7 separate regions of the Homo sapiens genome follow, and all the other regions are linked to region 5. The links are contacts of gene promoters, found by promoter capture Hi-C in blood cells and fetal thymus (Javierre and others, 2016). All regions are on one chromosome and are shown on one strand. The core of a region is centred on a gene start or on the middle of the fragment in contact, and the rest is flanking DNA. Distances in the headings are between cores, read along the strand shown.

The links. Contacts are between HindIII fragments. The CHiCAGO score rates a contact against its expected background, and 5 or more counts as called.
Region 1: a fragment that was not itself captured here is called in contact with the fragment with the promoter of CLDN1 in region 5 in 1 of 17 cell types (neutrophils); the score reaches 6.2 in neutrophils.
Region 2: a contact is called between a fragment that was not itself captured here and the fragment with the promoter of CLDN1 in region 5, in 2 of 17 cell types (M2 macrophages and neutrophils). The highest score is 6.1, in M2 macrophages.
Region 3: a contact is called between a fragment that was not itself captured here and the fragment with the promoter of CLDN1 in region 5, in 1 of 17 cell types (endothelial precursors). The highest score is 5.3, in endothelial precursors.
Region 4: a fragment that was not itself captured here is called in contact with the fragment with the promoter of CLDN1 in region 5 in 1 of 17 cell types (neutrophils); the score reaches 8.7 in neutrophils.
Region 6: a fragment that was not itself captured here is called in contact with the fragment with the promoter of CLDN1 in region 5 in 1 of 17 cell types (megakaryocytes); the score reaches 5.1 in megakaryocytes.
Region 7: a contact is called between a fragment that was not itself captured here and the fragment with the promoter of CLDN1 in region 5, in 1 of 17 cell types (neutrophils). The highest score is 7.3, in neutrophils.

The regions. Positions count from the first base shown.
Region 1 is chr3:190,826,127-190,830,426 of GRCh38, reverse strand. No RefSeq gene overlaps it. Among named protein-coding and RNA genes, the nearest start is that of GMNC, 34 kb to the left of the region's middle. The HindIII fragment of the contact is 682 bases long and covers 1,515-2,196 here.
Region 2 is chr3:190,694,798-190,698,927 of GRCh38, reverse strand. LINC02013 (long intergenic non-protein coding RNA 2013) reads left to right here. Exons shown (of 2, transcript NR_183762.1): 1 at 1-377; 2 at 778-983. Among named protein-coding and RNA genes, the nearest start is that of LINC02013, 2.5 kb to the left of the region's middle. The HindIII fragment of the contact is 1,611 bases long and covers 615-2,225 here.
Region 3 is chr3:189,996,292-190,000,597 of GRCh38, reverse strand. The region is part of intron 1 of P3H2 (prolyl 3-hydroxylase 2); the gene reads left to right. Among named protein-coding and RNA genes, the nearest start is that of P3H2, 120 kb to the left of the region's middle. The HindIII fragment of the contact is 817 bases long and covers 2,156-2,972 here.
Region 4 is chr3:190,799,912-190,803,919 of GRCh38, reverse strand. No RefSeq gene overlaps it. Among named protein-coding and RNA genes, the nearest start is that of GMNC, 61 kb to the left of the region's middle. The HindIII fragment of the contact is 6,927 bases long and covers 1-4,008 here.
Region 5 is chr3:190,321,091-190,325,191 of GRCh38, reverse strand. CLDN1 (claudin 1) reads left to right here and starts at 2,746. Exons shown (of 4, transcript NM_021101.5): 1 at 2,746-3,208. The coding sequence starts at 2,986. It also overlaps a transcript of CLDN16 not described here. RefSeq lists a silencer at 2,596-2,755. The HindIII fragment of the contact is 3,794 bases long and covers 1,720-4,101 here.
Region 6 is chr3:190,032,604-190,036,774 of GRCh38, reverse strand. The region is part of intron 1 of P3H2 (prolyl 3-hydroxylase 2); the gene reads left to right. Among named protein-coding and RNA genes, the nearest start is that of P3H2, 86 kb to the left of the region's middle. The HindIII fragment of the contact is 198 bases long and covers 1,342-1,539 here.
Region 7 is chr3:190,716,684-190,720,599 of GRCh38, reverse strand. It overlaps the pseudogene CCT6P4. Among named protein-coding and RNA genes, the nearest start is that of LINC02013, 19 kb to the right of the region's middle. The HindIII fragment of the contact is 4,943 bases long and covers 1-3,916 here.

The DNA of each region.
Region 1 (4,300 bases), core at 606-3,105, 510 kb before region 5:
TATACACACACCAATTTACATTGAAGCATTTACCTACATATCCTCCCTCATTCTGGATCAAGGAATAACAACAGAGTTTTGACTCAGGTCAAAAAATGAGAAGGAAATGAGTTCCAACTCTTTAATGTTTAAGTGGCCGCAGCTATGCATGAATGAGAAGAGTGAATTCAACTTGCCAAGTAGGTCAGCAGACAGTACTCCGGAAGGTCAGAACGGTCTGGTCATGGATCATCTTTTCCAGCCCTGGTCCAGTGACTTCCATTTTAGTTCATGAACATTACCCATTATACTAAGACTGATCTATCTAAGATGAAATAGCCCCATGCTGCCAGAAATAAGATCGGCAAAGGGCAGAAAAATTGCTCTATCAAGATTGGAATTCTTCGGGATCTAACTTACTTAGGCCAAGCTAGAGCCTCATAAAATATGAATAATATAGTCACAGGAGGAAAATAATCATTGCAGAGATGAGAAATATTGCCAACTTCAACATAGCTTTTGAAAATGAAATAAATAAAATTAAATATGACAAGACATTAAAAAGGCAAATACTAAACTCAATACTACTAATTAGTAATATCTTCTAAGCATCTCTAAGCTTATTTTTTTGACTGTCAGTGTCTTTGGGGGTTCACAATACTGCTGATAATCTGACCAAAATACTGTATTTTAATGAAATCTAAGTAACTATTTGAATGTATCTTTGTCTTTTATAATTTGGAATTTTTATCTATTATACTTAATCTTGTAGGGTAGAGTCTTCTATATCATTATCCATTACTACATTTATTGGAAATTGATGTTGTCATCTCAGCACAATCTCCCTTCAAAAAATATTTTTTGTTGCATGAATTGGTTAGAGGGATGAGGTCGTATAACAGTTTGATAAGGACACCTGAAAATACGGGAACATTGATTTGATTAAATGTAGAAAAGGGAAGAGTGCATTTCAGATCTCCCATTAGCAGGATTATCTATCAAGTTGAACCATTTAAAATTTATATAAGACAAATATGGTCTAATATTCTCAGTTTTATATAATTTAATCTATCTAAATAGGCATGTAATGTACTTTTATGGAAAAATATCTGTGAAAGTGCTTAATAAATTAGGCTGGCAAGCAAAGTGTATAAGCAAAGAGCTAGAAGTAACCACTTTACATTTGATACTAAATAATTAAATATTTCTTTTCTGAGACTGACTACCTCAATTGTAAAATAATGCTGTTTAATTTCAACATAGACGGCTAATTCAGATCATTTTTAACCATTAAATACACTTTAGAGTTTAGTCCAAATATAGGGCTGGTAATCATTAGAAAATCAAACCAACCTAATCAACAGTGTGCTTGTTACTTAAAAGTTCCGTGTCAGATTTTATTGGATAGAAAAGTTTTACTGCCCATATGCAAACAAACACCTTCCCTCGGAGTTCTTCAATAGACTCTGTAGTATTGCAAATACATCAAAGAGTGAACTTATAGTTATATGCAGTCCAGGTAATAAAACAAAGCTTTAAACTCAAATAACTGCCTTATTTCTGTGAATTGCTGCTGTCGTTTTTGGAACAATACTTTAAAGGAATATAAATATTTGCTGCTTATCTTTAAACGACTCCATTGAAAAAGCTGTCATTTACATGTATATTAACCAGGTCAGTGCACACCGGTGTACAGTGATCTACTTTTATTCAAATGGGTGCAATCAAATGTAACAGTGAAATAAGGAGGCACTTGTAAGCAGTTCCTCATATTCCTCTAGTACCTTGGTTAGTGATGAAAACATTTATTGGCATTTAGAAAAGGACTGCTAAAGGAAAAATCAATACACTAATTAATTATGAAATGGATTTTCAGTGATTACATAGTCCCTCTTATGTATACAACATATCGCCATTTAGCAAACACTTTCAAATATATTCAATATAACTGATATTCAGAAGATGTATGATATACTGGGATGTGAATGAAATTTAGAATCAGAAGACAAAAATTTGAGTGCTGTCTTTGTCATTTTTTCTGTTTAGATGAACTTGAACAAGTAAACAGTCTGAGTCTTCATTTTCTGTATCCATAAATGAGGTTAGTAAAAATCTGTCATAAGCATTGCTGCAAGAATTAAGTGAAGAACTGCATGTAAAAAGTGATGTATGAAAACAATTCAAATGTTAGAAGTTTCAATTCAAGATGAACAAGCTTCAACTTTGAAAATTAAGTTATGTGACCAAAGTGCACAGCTACAGACCTAGTTTTCCAGATGAAGCTTGCAATAATATCATTTATCATTTTATCATGCTTATGAATGCCTTATGACTCATAGTATTTTATATGTTTAAATCCATTGTCCTTTAGTGAGAACATTTTATTATAAACATCATATTTTAACATTTCACTCAAAGCCTTAACTTCCCCTATATTAATACTCATTGCAGACCTCTGTGAGTGTTTTGTATTCACGAAAGGAACAAGGGCCAGATACCCAAGTTTTCCTTCTCTGGCTACAGAATGCAAGAAAATGTGAATGCTCAGATCCAGGAATTAGTTTTCAAGAAAAGTTCCTTTTCAAGCCTTATCATCAGTTCATAGATTAATCCTTTTTCATCTGAGCCAACTTATGTCACTTCTGATTTTTAAACTTATTTTCCTAGCTTTGTGCAAGCATTTGTAACTGGTCCTCACTATCATTCAGATATTTGTTAATACCTACTCTATGTTGAAGTCTGTGCTAAATACAGTGAAGAATACCAGGAGAGATTAAAATTTAAAATAACACCTTGGCCTCTGCAGACTTGAGGAGAATTGTCAGTAGTTATTCTTTGGTAGCTCAGTAAACAGCAAGAAGAGCCTCTGATCCTTCAGAACACTAAATCTAAACACATTAAACTACATCCTCTTTTAAACTAGCTTTTCTTTGAACAATAGTCTTTAAAAAAAAACTTTAATTTTACATTCAGGGGCACATGTGCAGGTTTGTTACCAAGGTAGACGTGTGTCATAGGGATTTGTGGTGCGAATTATTTCATCACCCAGATAATAAGCCTAGTACCCACTAGTTATTTTTCCCGATCCTCTCCTAAGCTAGTTTTATTCAGAAATATGTGGATGTTATACTCATACATAAATGTATTAATAATGCCATATGGCAGTTTTAGTTTTTAGACTTACTTTTTTTATAGATTGCAACTGGACACGACCTTTTCCTCCAAAATTCCTTATGTCTTTTTATTTATGACACTCAAATTACACTAGATTCTCATGTTTTTCTCTCCCACAAAACCTTGCACATTTTCTTAACAGCAATTCCTACATTATGTAGTGATCAATTTGTTTAATGTCTATCACTTTCACTAGAGTGTGAGTTCCTTGAGAGCAGGGAAGTTCTTGATATTATTCATCTTTCTCCCTCGGTCTCACGATAGTGATTAGAAAGAGTACTGTTCCACAACTATGTCTTAAAAGACTGTGGGGCATCTAACGTGTTCGTGTCAATGGACTTTCTTTCCATTAATATTCCTTGCACCATTCTGTCAGAGAAGAATTCAAGGAAAATCTGATATTTTAGAAGCAAACAAAAACCTCACCTTGTGCTCATAGAAAAGTTTGATATAGAATGGAAAAATGGGTTTAAAATACCAAGTTTTCACGGCAATCATAAAGGAAAAGTTAAAGTGTTTGAAATTAAACAAACTCCACCTTTCCTCACACATTACTTTTAATTGCAAAAATCGCAATTAATTTTGCACCAACCTGATCCTATGTAGCAGTCTTCCCAGTGCGATTTCAGCCCAAGCTGAGCTGTAACTAAACTTACTCACACATATGGCAGGCTGCTTCCTCTTTTGGTGTTGCTGGCAGAGACTTCAAAGATTTTAGAGACTTGTTCCATCAAGAGGACATTTGTGATTCTTTTTGTGAGGGTAAATTCTGATGGGGAAAGGTGAGAATGACATTTCAAAGCATGGTAGTACAATAGGAATGGTCAAGGATTTTTTAGTAGACGTCACTCTGGTTTTCAATGTAGGAAATATAAATATGGAAGTCTAGTGGCCTAGAGGATTACTCTCTCCTGTAAGGGATTTTGCATTCTTTTTATTTTTTCTTCTGAGTTGAGCTTCTCTGGATCTCTTTGGAATGTGCTGTTCATTTAAGCATGGATGCACTCAGCAGCAGTTTGTGGCCCGCTGGGCTGTTTTACTTCCCCAGCCAGGTTGTGCTTGCCAGCTTTTGTTGAGAAATAACAGGAGGTCATACACGATGTCAAGAAAATGTTGGCATGGTTAGAGAAACAAGTATTGTATTAGT
Region 2 (4,130 bases), core at 171-2,670, 380 kb before region 5:
AGGCATATCACCATCATTTGCCTAGACTTTTGAATATGTTTCTAGATGGTCTTCATCCTTTCAGTATGCTTTCCTCCAGTTTATTCTACACATGGAAGCTTTACTATAGTTATAAAATATAAATGTGATCATGTAATTTCCCTGCTTAAAACACTGTAGTGTTACTCCAATGTCATCTGGATAAATCCACACTTGTTATCATACTTTGGACTTCTTAGCATGGTTCAGGAGGTTTATTTCAAGTATCAACCTCTCCTACACACACACACGCACACCACCTGATGTTCCTCACAGTGAGTGTCTATCATGGCTGTAAACGTGTTCCTGCCCAAGGAAGAGGATCTCTGTAACCCCTCTCATACTTCCTATTGCCCAGGGTAAGTACCTCAAAAGAGAACCGAAATGCAGGCATATGATTCCCCTAGATGACCTTACCTAGAATAATAATATAAGCTATCTCAATACACCAATACCTTTATATATAGTATTGTTTCTTGTGATGTTGGTAGCCAGTTCCTAACTTTCTTTGCTGAACCCTGGCCAAAACATGATTTTCCAATCCATTATTTTTTCAAATCTGAGAGGAGTTTCTGCAGAATCTTCCCAGACAAGCTTCTGTTGGTGAAGGGTTACATTTTGAGGGCAGCCTCTGATTTGGAAATATATTTAAAACTAGGTTACAGGAAAACAAAACAAAACTAGTTGGAATTGAGAAGGTTGTGGGTGAGTCACACCTCAAAAAAAAAATAACAATCTCTGCTTCTCATTTCTGGCTAGACACTGGACCTGCAATGCCTCCTATGAGACTACATACAGTGGGCGTGTTATGGATGGCTGAAGCACAGCACGGTACTGTTGTAACAAGAAACAGCCTCTTCTGTAAGGGACAAATTGCCGAGAGTGCAGCTTTTGGTTTGAGTAAAACAGAAAAGGAGAAAATTGACCCACATGTGCCAATAAAAAAGAACATCATTTAAATAAAAGACCCGTATTAACCATTTAAAAATGTCAGGAATTAGAGAGTAGGGGAGCACACATTCCCCTTTATGAACTCTGAAAAAAATCATATTGCACATAAATCAGCCCCTGGTTATTTCTAAAAATTAATTTCCTTCCTTCCTTCCTTCCTTCCTTCCTTCCTTCTGTTCTTTTCTTTCCTTCCTTCCTTTTATCTTCTCTTTCTTTCTTTCTTTCATGTTTCAGACATACTTATTCCTACAGGGGCAGAAGCTCCTCATGTACCAAAAAATTGTTGATATTCACTGCAAGAATGTCTTAAAAATTATTTTTAAACTATAATTTCTAATATAGTTTTCTGCTGTACTGAATGCCTGAGATGTCTCCATTCTTATGCTATAAGTATACAGTTGCAAAAGAATTGCAATTCAATTTTCAATTTCAGAAAATTTTTATTTAAGACATGCAAAGAGATCCACAGTGATTTTTTTTTTGTTTGTCTTTGTTTCTGTTTTTGTTTTTGTTTTGGAAGAAACTGCATAAGAATTATTATGTTGCAGGCATCCACCACGAGGTGGAGCAAGATAAAATTCTTTTCAAGCTCTTTTCCACACACAGCCTGCATCAAAAAGAAATAGGGTCAAAAACACACATTTTTCCTTTCCTGAATTATTATTATTTTTTCTTTCTAGCTGTTCCCTGGTAATTCTAGTACATTCAGCTCAGTAAAGGTGGTAGCTGTTAGATTTCAGGTACTGCAATTTTCTGTTTTCTTCGTATCCTCCTGCAATTCTGGCATGCTTTAGTTTGAGGCTGTGCAGGTCAGAAATTAACCTAAGGTTTTCTTCCGTGTTATGGTTAAAAAAAAAAAAAAAACCGCACTCTTAGGAGAAGTACACTTTGTCAAAGATTTTAGTGTAAATACTTTCTGCCAGAGAGCTAGAGAAGTCCCAGCTCATGTACTGGTCATGCAAGTTAGTTGTTGAGACTGGGTCACTAGGGAAAAACCGGCAGGATTTTCTAATTCAGCGTAGTATCCACGACCAGGGAGCCAGAGGTGAAGGCTCAACCAAGTCCAGGGAAAACTCAGGGGCTAAAAGTACTTGATATCTCATACATTTCCACACCAGAGATCTGAAGCAGGCCATATGCAGGGTTTCAGTTGCCAAAACTGGAGAATTAGGGGAGTAGGTAGAGCATTACGCGAAGAGGAGCCTAGGAGGCTGGGAACTCTGCCACAAGATTGATTCTACCATCGATTGTAAGCTTGAGCAGCTAAAGACATAGGGTCACACGGGCATTATCAGTCTCAGATTCACGAATGCCAAAATTTGAAGTGTTTTAAAAGCTATATAATAGAGTTGTTTTAAACCAGGTTACGAGATTATGGCTTCACAGAGTTTACCCAGAGAAGTGAGGGTAGCAGAAAGAGGGCTGAGTAAGGCAGGCTCTGGCACTTCCTCCGATTCAACTAAGGTAATTTGCTTTTCTTACTATGTTTCCATGAAAGAGTTCTCTTGAGAAAAATGTATTATTATATGTGCTTAATTATATTTATTTTATTATATATATAATTATATGTATGTTTTTGTGTAATTTCAAAGAAGAAAGATAATACTGGGATGTACGAATACAGGAAGGTACCACGCTTTGACGTTCAGTATGCTAGCTGGTGAAACTACTCTCCTCAGAAGGAAATTGACTCTCCAAAAAGCGTATGATGAAACACTGGCAGTGAAATAGATTCTGATGACTCCTGAAAGCAAACCTTACCTCCCCAGGTACACAGAATAAAAAAGAACATAGAATGAAAGAGATAATGGCCCCAAAGCCAAATATTGACCCACTTGTTACCCAAGGATAGCCTGATCATCTCCAACTTACATGTTAGAGTGCTTCAGAGTTTAAAAGGATTTTACATCTGCTATGGTATTAGAAACCCGTAACTCTTCACTGGTTCTTATTTACCTTACTGTGTCTTTGGTTATCATGTTTATTGGGTATGTCCTATCACCCTCACAAGTTTGTATGTCTCATTTACATTTATGTATTTTTCTGCTTACTCCTAGCATAGTTCCTGGTTCATAGTAGATCCCATGAACTTTTGTAGAATAAGATTATATACACACATTTTTTTGTACCTACTATATGCCTGTACATACACACACAAAAAATGTGTATATAATTGGTTTGGGTGAAGCATTATAATGTGAGGCAAAACTTGTCCTTTAGCCTTCAGCAGCAAGAGTCAATTCTTTTAATCTCCTAAAGCTGGATTAGCTAATATACCTGATCTGAATGTTTACTTGCATGTAGGCATAAGGGGTCTATTCCGGGAACAAACCAGATTCATAAGCTTCATGAGGGCAATAGCTTTGCCTGGAGCACTTCACTGACATTTACTCACAGAAGGAAACCATCCCAGCATCAGAATGGACTGAGCAAGCTGTAGGTGTTGAAAATAAAGACTCCATTTGGGAAACCCACACAGCACGCACCAACAAAAATCCCCACAGCTTGTTTTAAGCTAAATGCACAGATGTGTGTGGGGAATTCCTTAAATAACAGGGACAAGTTGTAAGTTTAGACTATGATATCACAACAAAGTGCTATGGGGGTGTGGATAGGAAAAGAAACTAAACCAGAAGCACAGGATGTTTTAAGTTGGAATTATGAGAGTAGGAGGAACTGGATACCCAACATTTAGAGACTCTCACAGTCTTTGACTTGGCATTTGAATAGATAGAAAGATAGATAAATGTGCGTGTGCACGTGTGCACACACACAACCTATATTATCTTATGTTCCTTCTTTTTCAGTCATCAGGCAAAACAAAGAAACAAAGAAACAAAAAACCCAAAACCCCAAAACCAAAACCAAGCTGAACTGATTCAGATTTTCAATGCAAAAAAAAAAAAAAAAAAGTAAGCAGCCACAAAACATATGCAATTGGAAATTAAATAATGTACAATGTACTCCTCTTCCTTCCCTTTTTTTTTCAGAGGAAAGGTTAATATATAATGCTCTGTCTGGAAATATATATATTCATCTGGGAACTAAAGGAAGGAAATAAGATCCTCACCTCTCACCATTCCTCCTCTTGGCCCCAATTACATAATTTGTAAAGCTTGTCACTGCAATCTTAGGCTTTGCCAAGTTAAGAGTTTCTGGTT
Region 3 (4,306 bases), core at 1,315-3,814, 320 kb after region 5:
GAGAAATCTTTGATGAATGAATCTAAAGGAGTTCTCCTTCCAGCCCAGTCCCAGTCAGTGCTCACAACTTTGTTCATTATTTCTTCATAGCACTTAATACAATCTGAAATTACTTTCCTTACTTATTTATTTACTTGGGATTTGTCCCCTTCTATGAGAATGTCAACATTTGTTATAGAAAGGAGGGCCTTTGTCTGTCTTGACCACGTAGGTATTCTGTTTAGTGTCTGATACAGAGTTGGTGCAAAATAAATATTTGCTGAATAAGTAAATGGGTGAACTAATGAACTGGGGCATGACTGGAGAATTGGACCTATGTGTGTGTTCTTGAATAGGCGGGTGGTAAGTTTTAAAACTTAGAGAAGTTCAGTTTCTCTGGAAAGAGTTGGTATAATGGCAGAGAGGAAGAAGTGATGCCAGGAAAAACAGAGCCAAATCCCAGAGTTCTTGAATGTCATGATGTGGAGTGTCTGAAATCTGTTTTCTAGTCAATGGATGACTACTGGAGATTTTTGAATAGTCAATGTGTGCTTTAGCAATCCGTCCTTTATTACTAGCTATGGAAAACTCTTTCTGTGTCAGAGGAACCTCATTCACTCACAGGTTCAAGGACAGTGTAACTTCTGAACGTCAGCAGGCTGTTGATTTAGTCAATGTTCATTTCTTTGTCCATACAGTATGACTACCACGTAGTCATGCTTCTGGGCTGGCAAGAGAAAATGTTTGCCTTAGTTCTTCACAGCTTGAGAGGAAATGGCCCTAAGCTTCTTGAAGGCATTTTTACCAGTATTTCTGACATCTCAGTGGCCTCCCCTAAACGTCAATACCATCTTCATGTCAGATTATTCCCCTTTTCTCCATTGTTCTTTATTTCACAGTTTATTTTTCTAATGCATAGAGTTACCCCCATATTAGACTTACTCGCTCCTGTGGTTTGTTTTAATTAGGTCTTAAAGGAAGTCCAGTTTGGAGCCTTTAACTGTAGTGTGCTGTTGGTTTGTTTCATTGGAGGAGTGGGTAGGTCCTTCCTTAGCTGAAACCTAGTACTGACTATGCCTTGTAATAACCTCCATCCAATCATATGACATTATATGTAGCATGCACATGTTTATGTGGACTTTTCTTACCACTTTGGATGTGTGTATTTATACAATGGAAGACAGAGGTATCAAGCTTCCAGTTAAAACAGTGGTTTATTTTATAGACCCTGGCAGCAAATTCTAGTTTCCTAAACTGGTTCACAATAATTTAAAAGCCAGGGCCAGTTCATGAAGTTTTATGGTTCAGCCTTTAGTCATGGAATCTTTTTTTATAGATTGTAGTATCTTCAATTCTGGACTATAAAGGAGGAAAGCACCAAATAAGCAAAACGTCAAATTTGAGAAAAGGACCCAGTTTGTTGACATTGACTGTTTTCAAGAGCTACGGAATCACATTCATCGTGATAACCACATTGGAAGCTCTCAGTATGAATGATGATTTCAGAGAAGTTTTTATTAAATGTACAAACTTTTAGTACCTTATAGGAGGGGTCCCCAACCCCTGGGCCATGGATCAGTACAGTCCTGTTAGGAGCGGGGCTGCACAGCAGAAGGTGAACCTTACCACCTGAGCTCTGTCTCCTGTCAGATCAGTGGAGGTCTTAGGTTCTCATAGGAGTGCCAACCCTCTGGTGAAGTGTGCAAGTGAGGGATCTAGGTTGTGTGCTCCTTATGAGAATCTTGCGTGATGATCTTAGGTGGAACAGTTTAATTCTGAAACTATCCCTGCAACCCATCCATGGAAAAATTGTCTTCCATGAAACTGGACCCTGGTGCCAAAAAGACTGGGGACCACTGCCTTATAATTCATGAAGCATATTCACATGTAATATACCTTTGAACTTATTACAAGTTACTTCTTACAAGTTTTTTTCTCTTTTCTAAGACATAGCATAGATATACTCTGTATGTAAATAGGTAGAAAATAAAAAGATTAATATACCATATGATCCATGTCCACAGAAAGCTCTAATGGGAGAAGCAGATATACTGATGCATATATAAGGTACAGAATGGTAAGTACCAGTAAAGGAACAGGTTGAGAGTATATTGTGGTACCCAACTATGGCTACAGGAATGGGAAAGGGTCTCTTAGAGAAGGCAGGATTTAAGCTTGGCCTTATAGGACATGACATATTTCAGTAAGAAAAGACAGAGGGACAAAGATTCTCTAAGTCAGTGGAATATCCTGAGCCAAAGCATAAAGTAGGAAAATTAAGAACATAAATATTTATTTGTGTTCCATTAACTTTAACGTCTAGTGCTGTAGAATCAGAGTATGTCAGTACTAATCTGTTGTACTCATAGCTTGTAGACTGGCTATTGCCCAGAGAAAATTTTCACCAACCAGAAGCACCTACTCTATCCTCTTATATTATGTGTTCATGGGAGCTATAAACTCTACTCTTCATTAATGGGAGCAGATTCACCTCCTTGAAACAGATCATTTATATATTGTATGCTATTATTTATCTTTTTCTAGTGCTCTAGTGACTGCTGAACACATTCATATGTATTTCACAGTTGAATCCTTCCAAAATCCTCCACAGTAAATGATGGTGTATAGTTCTTTTGAGCATTTTTTCTTTAGGGAAAATTAAAGCACCAGTGTTTAAACAACTTTTTCCAGGTTCACTTGGCCAATAAATGCAAACCACACATAATTTTGAACCCATTCTTTATACCTATATAGTTATTACTATGTAGATGCATACAATTCATATTTATCTGTATTGATATGTAAGAGATTGAGAAGATTAAAGTTGAGAAAGATGAAATCCAAAATTAGTGATTTTGACAGTCAAAATAATTCTGAGTGCACAGAATTGAGGACAAAGGTAAAAGTGGCAGGAAGAGCTCATTTCAGGCAAGATTTAATGGAAGGAAAGACAGTAGCTAAAAATGTGCAATTACATTTGAAAAGGGAAAGCTTTACTATTATGGGATGTTAGGTCTTAAAACAGGGCAGTTTATGTTTTTGTGTTAAGAGTTGATTATATTTCACAAGACTGCAGGGACTGGGCACTTGTGAGTCTACTACTTCTAGTTTTTAATAATTGAGTGGCAAAATGGTCAAAAGCAGATACAGTTGAATCTTACATGCCATTCTGTGATTTTATATTGTTCAGCAACAATTAGTTTTCATTTCTTCACACTAAAATGGATTGAGCATATTTTAGATTCCACCATGAAAACGATAACTAATGTGAATTTTTATTTTTCTGATGTGAGGTAAATGGATCTCTCTATTGAAATTCTCCATGACTAAAGCATATGTAAATATGTGAAGTGGGCGGATCACAAGGTCAGGAGATCGAGACCATCCTGGCCAACATGGTGAAACCCCATCTCTACTAAAAATACAAAAATTAGCCGGGCATGGTGGTGTGTGCCCATAGTCCCAGCTACTTCGGAGGCTGAGGCAGGAGAATCGCTTGAACCCTGGAGGCAGAGATTGCAGTGAGCCAAGATCGCGCCATTGCACTCCAGCCTGGCAACAGAGCAAGACTCCGTCTCAAAAATAATTTTAAAAATGTGTTAAAATGGGTAAATTAATTCCATTTTTTAAAAATATATCATTGCTTGTTACATGGAGATCATTGTATTAAGTGGTTTAGGAGACAGTTGGCAGTGTCTGTGTAGTGGTGGTTCAAAATTCTTTTTTATTAATGAGAATCAAAGTTGTAAGTTTGGAATCAAATATCTCAAAGCTGTGTGGTAAAGCATTTTATGTGCTGTTCTTAGCATCTTTATGCATTGGAATAATTTATCCTTTTAATTTTTTTAAAAGTTTTGTCTTATTTTTAATTGACACATAATAAGTATACATAATTACGGGTACAGTGTGATGTTTCCATATGTGTATTCATTGTATGATGATTAAATCAGGGTAATCAGCAAATCTGTTGCCTAAAACACTTATCATTTATGTTGGTGACATCATTAAAAATGCTTTCTTCTAGCTATTCTGAAATATACAATACATAATTGTTAGCTATTGTTATCCTACTGTGCAATAGAACACCAGAAATTATTCTTCTTCTTTAACTATAACTTTGTACTCTTTGACCAACCTCTTCCTGTCTCTCCCTTTCCTACATTTTCCAGCCTCTGGCAATCACCGTTCCACTCTACTTCTATGAGATCAACTGTTTCAGATTCCATATAAGAATGAGATCATGTGGTATTTGTCCTTCTGTGTCTGGCTTATTTCACTTAACATAATATCCTCCAGATTCATCCATGTTGTTGCAAATGATGGGATT
Region 4 (4,008 bases), core at 1,488-3,987, 480 kb before region 5:
ATTCGAATGTCTAGAAAACAAAAATTAATTTCTCTTCCTCCCTTGAAATTAAGCATTACCACATAACCTCTTCTGGATCATATACGATGCAAGAGGAGTTTCTAGGTTAGTTTCTAAGGGAGTGTTTTTTTTTAAATTCAGACTTCACTGTTAGAATGTGTTTGTCAGTTCACCTCTAGCTGCTTTGTTTCCTTCCTGGATAATTGATGCAATGCTGGGAGTGCAGTAACCAGGCTGGGATCGTGACATTGAAAGTCACACACTACTTATAGCAGATCAAGACAGCCTAGGTCCTTGATGACATTTTAGTCATGAACTCCTTATCCTGAACTTATTGATTCTTAAGAAAAACAACTCCTATTTGTTTTAGCCATTATTAGTTATTGTAATTTTTGTGGTTTACACCAATATAATCATGACGCATGTACCTTTCCCACCATTCAGCCATCGGTACCAACTGCCTTTCTCTTCACAGTGAGATATATATCAGAAGTTTCCAAACTTCCTAGGTTCAAAAGCTCTTAACATACCAGTGATTTCCTCAGAGCACTCCAGGCTAAAAAAAACACCTAACAGTTCAATTTATGAATTCATTAGATCCAATTTAACAATTTAACTTTTGTAATTTGTGTGGTATCTATATTCCCTTAAAATATGTAAAATATTGCACTGCACCGCGTGAATGACCTGTAATTTCCAAAGGAGGGAGGAAGGAGAGAGAGAGAAAGAGAGAGAGAGAGTATCTGATGGCAGAAATGTGAATTTAAATACTTAATAAAGTTTTCAAAAAAATTTTTAAAATTTTTGTGAGTACATAGTAGGTGTATATATTTATGGGCCACATGAGATGTTTTGATACAGGTATGCAATGTGAAATAATCACATCATGGGGAATGGGGTATCATCCGCTCAAGTGGAAGTTTGGAAGTATTCCTTCTCCTCTATTTGTTGAAATAGTTTGAGTAGGATTGCTATTTGTGCTTTTTAAAATGTTAGGTGTAATTCAGCAGTGAAGAAATCAGGTCCTGGGCTTTTCTTTACTGAGATAATTTTATTATTGGCTTTGATCTCATTACTTGTTATTGGTCAGTTCTGATTTTGGATTTCTTCCCGGTTCAATCTTCATAGATTGTAGGTATCTAAGAATTTGTCCATTTCTTCTAGATTTTCCAATTTATTGGCATATATTTGCTCATAGTAGCCACTAGTAATCCTTTGAATTTCTGCAGTATCAGTTGTAATGTCTCCTTTTTTATTTCTGACTTTATTTGAATATTCTCTCCCCTACTCTCCTTTTTTTCTAGTTAGTCTGGGTAATCTTTTGTCAATTTTGTTTAACTTTTCAAAAAATCAACTTTTTGTTTTATCTTTTGTATTTTTTATTTCAATTTCATTTATCTCTGCTCTGATCTTTATTATAATATTTCTTTTCTTCTAATTTGGGGTTCAGTTTGCTCTTGCATTTCTAGTTATTTAAGATGTATTATTAGGTTGTTTACTTGAAGTTTTTCCTCTTTTTTGATGTAGACCTATAGCTATAAACTTCCTTCTTAGTACTGCTTTTGCTGTATCACATAGATGTTGGCATGTTGTGTTTCCATTATCATTTGTTTACATTTTTTAAATTTCCTTTTTTATTTCTTTGTTGACCCACTAGTCATTCAGAAATGTAATGTTTAATTTCCATGTACTTGCATAGTTTCCTAAATTCCTCTTGTTATTAATTTCTAGTTTTATTCCATTGTGGTCATAGAAGATGCTGGATATTATTTCAATTGTTTTGAATGTTTTAAGACTTGTTTTGTGACCTAACATCTGGTCTATCCTTTGTGTATTAGTCTGTTTGCATGATGCTGGTAAAGACGTACCTGAGACTGGGAAGAAAAAGAGGTTTAATTGGACTTAGAGTTCCACATGGCTGGAGAGACCTCAGAATCATGGTGTGAGGCAAAAGGCACTTTTTTTTGTTTTTGTTTTTTTTTGAGACAGAATCTTATTCTGTTACCTGGACTGGAGTGCAATGGCATGATCTCAGCTCACTGCAAACTATGCCTTCCGGGTTCAAGTTATTCTTCTGTCTCAGCCTCCCGAGTAGCTGGGATTACAGGCACATGCCACCATGCCTGGCTAAATTTTTGTATTTTTTAAATTAGAGACGAGGTTTCACCATGTTGACCAAGCTGGTCTCAAACTCCTGACCTCAGGTGATCCACCCTCCTCAGCCTCCCAAAGTGCCGGGATTACAGGCATGAGCCACTGTGCCCAGCCAAAATGGAGCTTCTTACATAGCAGCAGCAAGAGAAAAATGAGGAAGAAGCAAAAGCAGAAATCCCTGATAAACCCATCAGATCTCATGACACCTATCCAGTATCATGAAGATACCATGGGAAAGACTGGCCACCATGATTCAATTACCTCTCCCTGGGCTCCTCCCACAACACGTGGGAATTCTGGGAGATACAATTCAAGTTGAGATTTGGGTGAGGACACAGCCAAACCATATCATTCTGCCGCTGGCCCCTCCAAACTCGTATCCTCACATTTCAAAACCAATCATGCCTTTCCAACAGTCCCCCAAAGTATTAACTCATTTCAGCATTAACTCAAAAGTCCACAGTCCAAAGTCTCATCTGAGACAAGGCAAGTCCCTTCCACCTATGAGCCTGTAAAATCAAAAGCAGGTTAGTTAGTTACTTCCTAGATACAATGGGTGTACAGGTATTGGGTAAATACATTCATTTGAAATGGGAGAAATTGAGCAAAAGAAAGGGGTTCCAGGGCCCATGCAAGTCTGAAACCCATCAGGGCAGTCAAATCTTAAAGCTCCAAAATGATCTCCTTTGACTCCATGTCTCACATCCAGGTCATGCTGATGCAAGAGGTAGGTTCCCATGGCCTTGGGAAGCTCCGCCTCTGTGGCCTTGCAGGGTACAGCCTCCCTCCCAGCTGCTTTCATGGGCTGGCATTGAGTGTCTGCAGCTTTTCCAAGTGCACGGTGCAAGCTGTAGGTGGATCTACCATTTTGGGGTCTGGAGAATAGTGGCCCTCTTCTCACAGCTCCACTAGGCAGTGCTCCAGTAGACACTCTGTGTGGGAGCTACAATCCCACATTTCCTTTCCAAACTGCCCTAGCAGAGGTTCTCCATCAGGGCCCTGCGCCTGCAGCAAACTTTTGACTGGGACCCAGGGGGTGGTAATTGAATCATGGGGGCTGGTCTTTCCCGTGCTATTCTCATGATAGTGAATAAGTCTCATGAGATCCGACAGATTTATCAGGGGTTTCCTCATTTTTCCAACTTCTGCCTGTTACCCAGTTCCAAAGTCGCTTCCACATTTTCAAGTATCTTTTCAGCAATGCCCCACTCTACTGGTACCAATTTACTGTATGAGTCCATTTTCACACTGCTGATAAAGACATACCTGAGACTGGGAAGAAAAAGAGGTTTAACTGGACTTACAGTTCCACACGGCTAGGGAAGCCTCAGAATCACGGCGGGAGGCAAAAAACACTTCTTACACGAAGGCTGCAAGAGAAAAATGAGGAAACCCCTGATAAACCTGTCGGATCTCATGAGACTTATTCACTATCATGAGAATAGCACGGGAAAGACCAGCCCCCATGATTCAATTACCTCCCCCTGGGTCCCTCCCACAACACATGGGAATTCTGGGAGATATAATTCAAGTTGAGATTTGGGTGGGGACAGAGCCAAACCATATCACTTGAAAATGATTAAGATGCTGAGGAGAAGAATGTGTTTTCTGAAGCCGTTGAATGAAATGTTCTGTAAATATCTATTTGATCCAATTGGTCTATATTGCAGATTAAGTCTAATGTTTCTTTGTTGATTTTCGTCAGGAAGATATGTCCAATGCTGAAAGTGAGGTGTTGAAGTCTTCAGCTGTTATTGTATTGGAGCCTCTCTTTCTCTAGCTCTAAAAATATTTGTTTTATTTCTGTGAGTGCTCTAGTGTTGGGTTCATATATACTCAAAATTGTTACATCCT
Region 5 (4,101 bases), core at 1,497-3,996:
ACCTCTCTGTGTCTGTTACCTGCACGTAGAGATAGCATATAAAACTCTGACCTCAACACTTGATGAAAATATACAGCAACAAGTGCCAGCTGTCATTACTTAGAGTCATAAAGCTTTAGACTTGGGTGACTTTCAGAAATTAACCCCATCCCTTTTATTGGTAGGGAAACTGAGGAAGAAAAGAAGTAATTTGTCTGAGGGTACATAGCAGATTTTACTACTCAACAGGCTAGGACACTTACCATACCATTGCCAGCCTTTCTAGAGCCTTCTTGGTCTCAGTGCTGCCTTTACTGTTTATGTTTCAGATATGAAAGGCCAGTATTTGGAAGCTGTTTTTCCTCTTAAGTTGATAGATTTATGCTGAGCCATTATCTCACCTGTCCTCTGCACTTAAGCTAGGAGCAGAAAACTAGACAGGATTAAGGATGCCTAGAGATGGGCCTGAATCACAGTGAAGCAAACAGCATTCACCTCAGCCTCACAAACATGGTTGTGGGTAGTGAAGTAATCAGCCTCGCACAGACCTGAAATACAAAACAAAAACACGGGACCCTGCTGACCACAGAACTCATCCCTCCGATTCCCCGCTAATTGTAGGTTGATAGAAACCAGTTGTAATGCAGAGTAAAAGGGCCTGTGCACAAATATATTTACTGAACGCAGAAAATGTCATTTATTTGTTTATTTATTTATTTATTTATTTGTTGAGATGGGGTCTTGGTCTGTTGCCCAGGCTGGAGTGCAGTGGCACGATCTGGGCTCACTGCCACCTCCGCCTCCCGGGTTCAAGCAATTCTCCTACCTCAGCCTCCCAAGTAGCTGGAATTACAGGCGCCCACCACCATGCCCGGCTAATTTTCATATTGTTAGTAGAGACGGGGTTTCACCATGTTGGCCAGGCTGATCTCGAACTCCTGATCTCAAGTGATCCGCCTGCCTCAGCCTCCCAAAGTGTTGGGATTACAGGCGTGAGCCACTGCGCCTGGCCTGAGCCACCGTGCCCGGGTGTTTAATAATACTTTTAATTCTTAAATGTTTGGAACAAAAAAAAGAAGAAAATGAGATTATATGATTCACATGGTACTGCTCTAGTCCTGCAGCAAATTCCAGTGCCTTCTCTGATCAGGGAATTTTTACAAAATCAAATGTGATTGATACATCTTCATCCACACTGACAGGCACCCACAGAACATCCACTGAGACCTAGACAGTAGTACTGACTGCAGGCCCTAACCCTGGGATACAACACGAACATGGTCTTGTCCTAAACAGCTGATAGGAGAAAGACAGTATTCACTGTGTTAATCTCAGTCCAAATTAATTGTCTTCATCTAGCTCCTGTCTTACATTCTTCATTGCTTGTCCCTAAATCCTAGCACGGCCAAGTCCTTTAGTTTTAAGCCTACATGAAAGGCATCCAGGGAGAGCCAGGTGGAAATGAAGGTGGTGGGGCTTGGCCTTTCTTCCCATTCCCACCTTGAGAATTTGCACCTTTCCTTCTCTGTCACCAACTAGCAGTTGCCATGGTATATAAGGGTATATCTTATTTTATCCTTAATATGTTTATTTCTGCTTCCAAGATGCTTCTGTTTTTACTAAAACCATAGAAGCTTCCCCTCCCACCACACTCGCACCACACACAAAAAGCAGTTGGAAAAACATTTCAATGATTCCTAACCACAACAGCACTTCTGACTAACTACAAAGAAGGAAGCTTTGGAGAAACATAGAGGGAAACTACAGTCCCAGCGAGACCGAAACCGGAGGGGTGAGATAGCCAGTCACAGTAAAAGCTGGAACCAGAGCCCAGACTTCCTCAACTCCAGCCCAGTCCTTTTGCCACTGGGGAAACGCTGTTTACATGTCCTCACCTGCGACGAACAACATTTGATAACTCACAAAATTAACACCTTTCAGGGAGAGCGGGGCACTGGCCAGGTCCCTCTGATAATGAATTGCTGCTCTAAGACATAACTGCTGTGGGGAGGAGGTTGGTGTTTGGCGGGGAAGGGCTGCTAGCCTGCAGTTTCATAAGGACAATAATACATCAAAAAGGACAATCATAGATCAAAGGGGATATTTTGGGTCAACTTGATATGTAGTGGAAAGCAGATTGGGAGGGGAGCCAAGTACTGGATATGCTCCGTGCGTGAGTGTGTCTGTGTGTGTGTGTGTGTGTGTGTGTAAATCATGTTGCTCTCTGGGTCTGTTTCCCAATCTGTAGAGTGTAAAAGTCTCTGAGGCTCCTTGCAGAGACAAGTGATGGAACGACCTTGACAGAAGAGAGCAGAGAGAGGAAAGAAGGGGGAGGAAGCCAAGCAAAGGAGAGAGAAATGGTGTGATGGGGGAGGAGACGCGGAGTTGGGTAGAAATGCCTTTTAATAAGATATTGGGAAAAAAGTATTAAACCTAAAACTGCAGCTCTTGAAGGATCATTTTTTCATCTTTGTGTTAGGATTTACAAGTACAGTGCATAGTAATTTTTGGATAATTGGAGTGAATGAATGAAAAGCGTGAAACGCCTTACAGGAGCGAGAAGATCCACGAGAGAAAGCGAGCAGGGACGCAGCTCTGGTGCCTGGTCCTGCCGGGTGGTCCCCACGCCGCCAGCCGCGCGTTCCCCAACCGGGCGCTCCCGGCGCCCTCTCGGTGAGCCGCCCTGAAACCGCCAGGGGGCGCTCCCCGGCTGCCGGGGCTGAGGCGGGCGGAGCTGCTTTAAATCGCGGCGCCCAGCGGTTCTGCGTCTCAGTTCCCGAGCCTGGGAGCAACCGCAGCTTCTAGTATCCAGACTCCAGCGCCGCCCCGGGCGCGGACCCCAACCCCGACCCAGAGCTTCTCCAGCGGCGGCGCAGCGAGCAGGGCTCCCCGCCTTAACTTCCTCCGCGGGGCCCAGCCACCTTCGGGAGTCCGGGTTGCCCACCTGCAAACTCTCCGCCTTCTGCACCTGCCACCCCTGAGCCAGCGCGGGCGCCCGAGCGAGTCATGGCCAACGCGGGGCTGCAGCTGTTGGGCTTCATTCTCGCCTTCCTGGGATGGATCGGCGCCATCGTCAGCACTGCCCTGCCCCAGTGGAGGATTTACTCCTATGCCGGCGACAACATCGTGACCGCCCAGGCCATGTACGAGGGGCTGTGGATGTCCTGCGTGTCGCAGAGCACCGGGCAGATCCAGTGCAAAGTCTTTGACTCCTTGCTGAATCTGAGCAGTGAGTGCACCCCCACCTCACAGCGGCCGTCCAGAGGCCCCAGTCCCCCTGCAGCTCCCTTATGGGCTCATTCTGTTGTGTGATTCCATGGTTATCAGTCTTCAGTTGATCAAGTCTTCTGATCATGTGCTCTGTCATAAGGAAATGAAGAGAATCCTGGTTTGAGGAAAGCGACGCCCAGGCATAAGCTCTAGTTTTGCCTCTAACTCCCTGGGTGACACTTCTGCCACTCTAGGTGTGGCTTCATCCTAAATTCCTATGCTGGTGGTTCGAGTTGAGGGAGTGAAGGCCAAACTTGAACTTGAGCTCTTAGACCTCTCCTAGGCATTCCGAGATTTGGGGTAAATTGAGGATTGGTAGAGTTCAGACAAGAAAATGGGATGACTGAAAAAGTTTGAAGCCTGGTAACTTCTCAAGTGTGCACGCTTAAATAAATAATCCTCAAGTATTAGATATAACTTTTTAACCTTTAATATGATTTTTTCATAGTAAAAGTTACATTCCTACTGGAAATGTCCTATCTAAGTGTCTTCTGCTTATGCTTGAGGTTGATTCTTTTAATTTATAAGATCCAGTTAGTGCAGGGAGGCCCCTTGCAAGACTCTTTGGAGAAGCTGCTTGAGATTCCCCCGAAGTTTTAATTTTCAGACCCAAGGTCTTCTGTAGAGGCTGACGGTGTAGTGCTATCTTGGAAAGAGAAGGTTGGTGGCAGGTGGGGAAAGGCTGACAAGAAAGGTTCTAAATAACCTGCGCAACATAATACAAAGAAAAAAGTAAAGGCACTGAAGGGAAATGCAGCAAAATAGTCATAGCTGATGAAATCAGAGGTCAGCTGGGAGTGGAAGGCAGTGAGAGAGAAAGAAGAGGTGGGTCTTCCTTAGGTTTCCATCTTC
Region 6 (4,171 bases), core at 191-2,690, 290 kb after region 5:
GCAGAGGGTGTCCCTGGTCTTTGTCAGATTCTACAGAGGGAACTTGGGGGAACTAATTCTGTTTCCTTATAATTGAAGTCAAAGGTAGACTCAGTGAGTGAGACTGAGGGAGAAAAAGAAAAGTGGAAATGAATGTGATTTGACATTAGATTATGAGTTTTAATTTCTGTCTTGCCATCATGCAATCTTAAGCAAGTCATAATTCCTTTAAGACTCAATGTTAATTTTTTTTAAAATGGAGATTTTAAATAATAATCTCACAAGATTACGTTAAGAATGAAATTATCATGTCGACTATAAAGTGATATACCAGTTTAGATGTTATTAATTATTAAGGCATAGTCATTTGCACAAAATTCTAAGGTGCAAAATAATTTGATCACTCCCTTGGACTTCCTTTTGATGGGCTTTCAATACTGTTGTATTTATTCAAACATGTATGAAGTCTATATGTATGATTTACCATTCCTTTGGAGACACAAGAAATATGTGGAATGCATCATTAGGTAAGAGCAAAATTCTCAAATCAGAAATTTGAGACTAACTGAAAAATGAGAAAGTTTGGGAGAAAAGGCAGAGTGATGTGGTTATACAAAAAAGGGAGACAAACTGTGACTTCATTTTAGAGAACAACAGAAGTGGGAAGGAGATGGTGGTGGCAACTGAGACTTTCAGAAGAAAAAATTTCATTCTGAATATGGCAAAATGGGAAACCAAATGGTGCAGAAGTAGAGACAATTCTTGCAATTGAATAAAATAACTGGTCAGAAATATTCATCCAACTAACAAATGGTTTCCAGGGACCCTTCACTGCAGCTTACTGTGTAGAATTTAAACTAAGTAACTTAACAATTGATAACATAACCTGTATGTACCCTTTGTCCCCTGCCCCCACTCCAAATATTACTGCTAATTAGAAGCACATGTTGAAGGAAAAACTCTAATAAGACATTCCGGTATAAGATCTGGGTTTGCTTTAAATCCCCCAAGCAGCCTAAAGCCCAACAGAAGGTATTTAGCCTTTTGCCTTTTGTTTAAATGGAGATTATTTTGAGTTATCAATAGTGCAATACTCCCATCCTGCTGTCCTTTAGTGTAAATTAAGGCAAAGGACATGATAACAGTATCAATAAAAGAGCAAAAGTAAAAAATAAAACGCATAAGATTATTAATGGGTGACAGAAAATTGCTATATACATCATAGCTGGTAGATTAAAAGGGAGTGACAAAGAGATGTCCTGAGAAATTTATTCAAGGGTTTACAAGAGAAAAAAAAATGAAGGATTTAAGACTGTTTAATCTTTAAGAATTTAAAACTTTTAAATATCTCTTTAATAAGCTTTATATTCACATAACATTTTAATAGGATTTTATATAGACTAACTCAATTGTCAAATATACTGAGGCAGGTTGGGTATCAGGTATCCTCTAATACCTATTAAATAGAATGAACCAGAGAAGTTAAAATATTTTTGTAAAGTTATGCAGCAAATAATGTGGGAGCCAATATTTAAACTCTGGTCTTCTGATATAAAAGCTTTTGTTTTATGAACTATTCCTAGTTGCCAAGGAAGCAATTACAAACAAAAAAACCAAAAAAAAGAAAAGAAAAAAATAGCCATTTGGGGGCAGATGCGGTGGCTTACACCTGTAATCTCAGCACTTCAGGATGCTGAGGCAAGCAGATCACTTGAGGTCAGGAGTGTGAGACCAGCCAGACCAATACGGTGAAACACTGTCTCTAATAATAATACAAAAATTAGTCGGGTGTGGTGGTACATGCCTGTAATCCCAGCGACTCAGGAGGCCGAGGCAGGAGAATCGCTTGAATCTGGGAGGCAGAAGTTGCAGTGAGCCGAGATCACACCACTGCACTCCTGCCTGGGCAACAGAGTGAAATGCCGTCTCAAAAAAAAAAAAAGAAAAGAAAAGAAAAGAAAAAGCGATTTGGCCAGATATTTTTAAATATTTGAAATTATTTAATGTAATTTAAATAAACATACAGCAGAATTCCCATTTTTGATGTATAGATCGATTCCCATCAACAAATTCAGTCATGTTGACCACCACACAGAAACTAAGATACAGAGCAGTTACGTCACCACCCAAAATTCCCTCATGCAGCCCTTTTATAATCAACCCCTCCCTCCTTCCCAATCTGTGACAACCATTTGTTTGTTCTTTCTTCCTCAAGTTTTGCCTATTGCAAAAGTCTATTAATGGGATCAAACAATATGAATCATTTTGTTTCTGGCTTCTTTCTGTTTTATGGGTGACCAAAATCACATGGAGAGTATGTTATTATTTTCCTATGTTTTTTACATATCTGAAACTGTGCAATACTGCAGAAACTTCTGAATTATTGTGTTTATTGTGAAACTCAATGTCCAAATAGTGAGACAAATTATTGTTCAAATTCTGTCGCTTAAAGATTATACCTAATATGCCTAGAGAAAGTACTACCACCAAAAGTGCAAGTCCAGCTGTCATCTTTTTTAGGTGTCTCTCTCATTACTAAACCTGACTTTTGACAGAGTTTATGAGGAACAATTATTCATATGTGATTATTTCAACTATCCCTTTATCTAGTCCTTTGGACAGGATTATTTATAAAAGAGGTCTATGCACATTTTTAGATGTCTTTATATCATGTTGAGTCTTATCTTGCCACAATAACTACATTAAATCTTTTTTTATAACATCGTGTTCCGTCTGAATATTGTTTACGAAAGTATTCTGTAACGTGAGCTTGAAATTGTAGCAAAACCCATGTTAGGAAAGTAAATATCTAAAAGCAGAAAATATAAGCTTCCCTGGTTGCCAAGAAAACCACTGTACGCAAATTTCTGTTTATTAAATATTTGGCGGTAAAATAACAAAATTGTTGAAAAGAGGAGATTGTCTTACCCTGAGCAATAGGATATGAATATCATCCATTTTTTGTTGGAAAAATAAACAACAACATGGGATTTTAGGATAGGAGGTCTTCAGCAGTCTCTTGCAAATAGCTTAAATCATGGGGATTAAAAGGCAGCAAAACCAGGTACAGATAACTTGGTAAGAATAGTTACTTCTTTTGGGACTTTTACAGCCAAGTTTACAGGACCAGCCACATCCAAATGGAATGAAGGCCGTATGGTTTGCAAATGAAGATTGAAATGCTACGGCCAAACAATACAGAATGGATCCTGAGCTCATAAAGAAATAGACATGTACTAAACATGAGATTACTGAAAGAAAAAAATCATAAGTTTTCTTTTTGCAGTCATAAATGACAAAAATGTTTAAAAATAATAGATAATTTTCTCTCAAGGAGTATGAGAAAAGTACCCAGTTGGTTCTAGATATTTTATTTTCTTTCACAGATTTCTCTCTATATTTTTCTAAATTTCCAATATTAATTTTAATAAAGGTATATATTCTGGTTATTTTGAAAAGAGAAAACACCACAATATTACTAATTCAGTTAAATCAGGAGTCCACAACCCCCAGGTCACGGACCCGTACAAGTCTGTGGCCCATTAGGAACTGGGCCACACAGCAGGAGGTGAGCGGCAGGTGAGCAAGCGACTGTATTTACAGCTGCTCTCCACCGCCTGCATTACTGCCAGAGCTCTGCCTCCTGTCGGATCAGCAGTGGCATTAGATTCTCTTAGGAGCGCGAGCGCTATTGTGAACTTTGCATGTGGGGGATCTAGGTTCCGAGTTCCTTATGAGATCTAATGCCTGAGGATCTGTCACTGTCTCCCATCACCACTAGATGGGACCGTCTAGTTTCAGAAAACAAGCTCAGGACTCCCACTGATTCTACATTATGGTGAGTTGTATAATTATTTTATTATATATTGCAATGTAATAATAATAGAAATAAAGTGCACAATAAATGTAATCCACTTGAATCATTCTCACACCATCGCCCTACCCTACCTCCTCACAATCCCCACCGTGGTGCATGGAAAAATTGTCTTCCACGAAATCCTGGCACCAAAAAGGCTGGAGACCGCTGAGTTAAATCACACCTACCAAAAAAGCCAAAACTTGAACATTCCTTCTCAGTGACTCTGTCATAGGGTGACAATTTAATTTTATTGTAGACAAAGTTTCTAGGAGGAAATAGTAAAGCTTCAAATTCTAATCTTACAAATCCAAAGCTCTAAATGTACCCATAAAT
Region 7 (3,916 bases), core at 403-2,902, 400 kb before region 5:
TAAAAAGGAAACAGTGACCTACACTGAAACTCTTCTGCTAAGTAACCGTCTATAGCTTCCTACCGTCCATGGGACAACGTGCTCTGTTTGGTATCCAAGGTGCTTCATAATGTAATCCTCACACATGAACCCTTTCCTTTTCATGTATTTCATGAATCTACCAAACTTACTTTCCCTACATATCCTCAGAAGTTTCTCACATCAGGGCTTTGCTCACATGGTTTTCTAGATTTGAAACACTCTTCACCCAATTTTAAAACTGGCATTCAAACCCATTTATCTAAGACTCAGAGGAAATGTTACTTTACTTAAGACGTAAACGGGTTTAAGAAAGATTCAAATATTATCTTCCTTAACCCTTAAAAGATAAAGATAAATCCTCAAAGCGAATACCAAAAAAAGTTAGTGATGTTGGCCCCTGTGGATAAAAACAAACAAACAAACAACAAACTAAGTTACATCACAAGGTACAAATAGTAAAATCTAAAAACTGAGAAAACATGAATCCTGATTTGAGGCTTCCATTTGTCTACTATATTTTGTTGATCATTTCTGATAAGTATAATAACAGTGTTGAAATAAATGTATGTGTTCTTTGAAAATTTCCATGTCTATAGATTTTTATTGGCTATTTCACTTCTTTATTCCTTCTCAGGCTTTTATCTATAGTTAAGACATCCTAGCAAATCACTAGAACTGTTTCTAGCATGTAAAATTGTATAATAATTCTTCTATGTATGCCTAACATAGTTTGTTGTGTGGACCAAATTCATTAATTCATCCAATATACTTTTATAGCATATTTAAACATGTCAGGATTATGCTGTGAAGAAAAACATACGCTTGAGACACTTTGTACATTATTCAATCCTTCACAATATAATCAGCAGTCAAAGTGAAAGCCCTTTGAAAACTCTAAAATGTTTCACTGTGTAAGGAATTGTTAAAGTTGTGTAATGAATACTTAAAGATACATCATTAACCTTTGAGGTCAATGCCATACAACCTCCATCTGCTATCCAACAAGTGTCCTTTAGAGAGAATTGTGTAAAAAAAAATAAAAAAATAAAAAAATAAAAAATAAAATAAAAAGAATCTGTGGAAAAAGACTCATTGCTTATTAGTGTTATGTGGCATGTCTTTCTTACGTTCTTATAATTTGGTTTAGTCCTAGTTTCAACAGTGAGATTTCTCCAAAAATATAATTAGTAACATATTATTAGTAGTCAACATCTTTGAGATTTTGTAAAATATTAAATCACTGTTTAACTATAACTACAGTTGTAGTTAAAATGTGATGGATCTAGATCCACCTGTGATTTTCCTGGAGGATAGCTTTGCATGGTGATTCTGGGAGGGAAAAAGGTTCTTAACATATTACAATGAGAAAACATTGGCATCTGACTTCCCGTAGTGCTGTCAATCACTGTAAAGTACAACCTAAACCTGTTCATTAGTGTTTGCATTCAGATTTAAGTACTGGCATTACAGGTGAGGCAATAGGCTAATCAATAGAGCTTCTTTTGTGGTTATTAATTTAATATTGGTTTATGCCCACGCTGGAATCTGCCCTTACACGCATTTACTGGCAAGTGTATATTTAGACAGCACTTTTTTTTTGCTTCTCATAGTTTTAGGGATGTTTCATTTTCAGGTTCTTTCAGGATAACCATCATATGACTCATCCAATGGACATTTAATCACCATGTTTTCATTTTCTGTTCTTTGCTTTCTGTGGTACTTTCAGATCACGAATCCCTCATAGCAGCTGGTATTCTTAGGAAACAGTTTAATTTCAATGTTGGAATGAAATCAAAACAAAAATATTCTTATGACGACAAATCTGAGCCTACTCAAGGAAGTTTTTATTAACAAAAATAAAAAAGTATACATTTTAAGATTCACTTTAAATTTTTGAAAAATTTTGCAGTTTTTGGCAGAAGAGGCACATCTTGTTTTATTTCATTTCACTTTATTGTGCTTGGCAGATGCTGTGTTTTTTACAAATTGAAAGTTTGTAACAACTCTGTGTGGAACAAGGAAGGCTCTCTGCATCAGCGCCATTCTTCCAACAGCAGGTGTTCAATTTCTTGTTTCTGTGTCACATATTGGTGACTCTAGCAATATATCAAACTTTTTCATAATCATGATATCTATTACGGTGATCTGTGATCAGTGATCTTTGGTGTTTTTGTTTTGGGGCACCATGAACCACACCCATATAAGACTGAAGTAGTCGATAAATGCTGTGTGTGTTCTGACTGCTCCACCAACTGGCCATTCTCTTATCTCTTTCCTTCCACTTCAGCCTCCCTATTCCCTGAGACATCCCAATATTCAAATTGAGCCAGGCCAGGCACTGTGGCTCATGCCTGTCATCCCACCACTTTGGGAGGCTGAGGTGGGCGGATCACTTGAGGTCAGGAGTTTGAGAGCAGTCTGGCCAACGTGGCAAAACCGTATCTCTACTAAAAATACAAAAATTAGCTTGGTATGGTCCCAGCTACTCAGGAGGCTGAGGCAGGAGAATCGCTTGAACCTGGGAGGCGGAAGTTGCAGCGAGCCAAGATCGCACCACTGCACTCCAGCCTGGGTGATAGAGTGAGACTCTGCCTCAAAAATAAATAAATTTAAAAAAATCAAATCAAATAGAGCCAAACAATAACCCTAAAATGGCCTCTAAGTGTTCACATGAATGGAAGAATCACGTGCCTCTCACTTTCAACCAAAAAATAGAAACGATTACATGAGGGGAAGACATGTTGAAAGCTGAAATAGGCCCAAAGCTAAGTCTTTTGCTCCCAGCAGCCAAATTATGATTGCAAAGGAGAAATTACTGAAGGCTATTAAAAGTGCCATTCCAGTGAACACACAAATAAAAAAGTAAATCTGCGTTATTGCTGGTATGGAGAAAGTTAGAGAGGTCTGGATAGAGTATCAAACAAGTCACAACATTCCCTTAAACCAAAGCCTAATCCAAAGCAAGACCGTACTATGATCCACAAGACACTACAAACTGAGGTGAGGAGGCTAAAGAAGAAAAGTCAGAAGCTGGCAAATTTTTGGTTCATGAGATTTAAGCAAAGAAGTCATTTTCATAACATGAAAGTGCAAGGTAAGGCAGCAAGTGCTGATATAGAAGTTGCAGCAAGTTATCCAAAAGATCTCGCTCAGATAGCTGGTAAAGGTGGCTACATACTAAACAACACATTTTATTTTTTGTTTTGAGGATTCAACTTAATATTTATTACATATTCATTGCAGATAACTGCTAAACCCTCAAACCACACAGCTTAGTATCACACAATTTCGTCTCCAAAGACTACAGAAACAGACCAACTGTATATAAACAATCTTGTGGAAATATGTAGGAGAGAACAGTAATTTGGGTGAGAAAAATATGGCACTAGAGCATTTGGGATGGATATGTTGCACAAGCAAAAAGTTCAGACGCTTGAAAATATGGTCAGCTATTAATCTCATATTTCACCCAGTAACCCTAGCCCTTAGTCACCATGCCTTCCATCATCTTTTTACCTCTGCCTCTTCTATTTTTGCCACTTGTCCCTTGCAGCTCTCTCAACTCCCTTTGCCTCTAGTTTATTCTTCTTCCCATTTGCTACAGCTTAACGTTTTGGGGGGAGTATTGTAGCAAAGCTATTTCAAAAGCAGCAAAAGTCCAACTGATCCAATAAGTTTACAAATAGAAATTTATACCAACAGGGATGCTTTCAAAATCTTAAATTACAGAAGTGTTATTTATATTAGCATAAAACTTTTTTTAAACCTAAATACTTGACAATAGGACACTGTTGGATAATTTAACAAACATCTTCATAAGAAATTATTAAACCATTAAAATTTGTTTTTCAAGAAATATTTAATAATAAGGTAGATAACATATGCTTTTCTAACA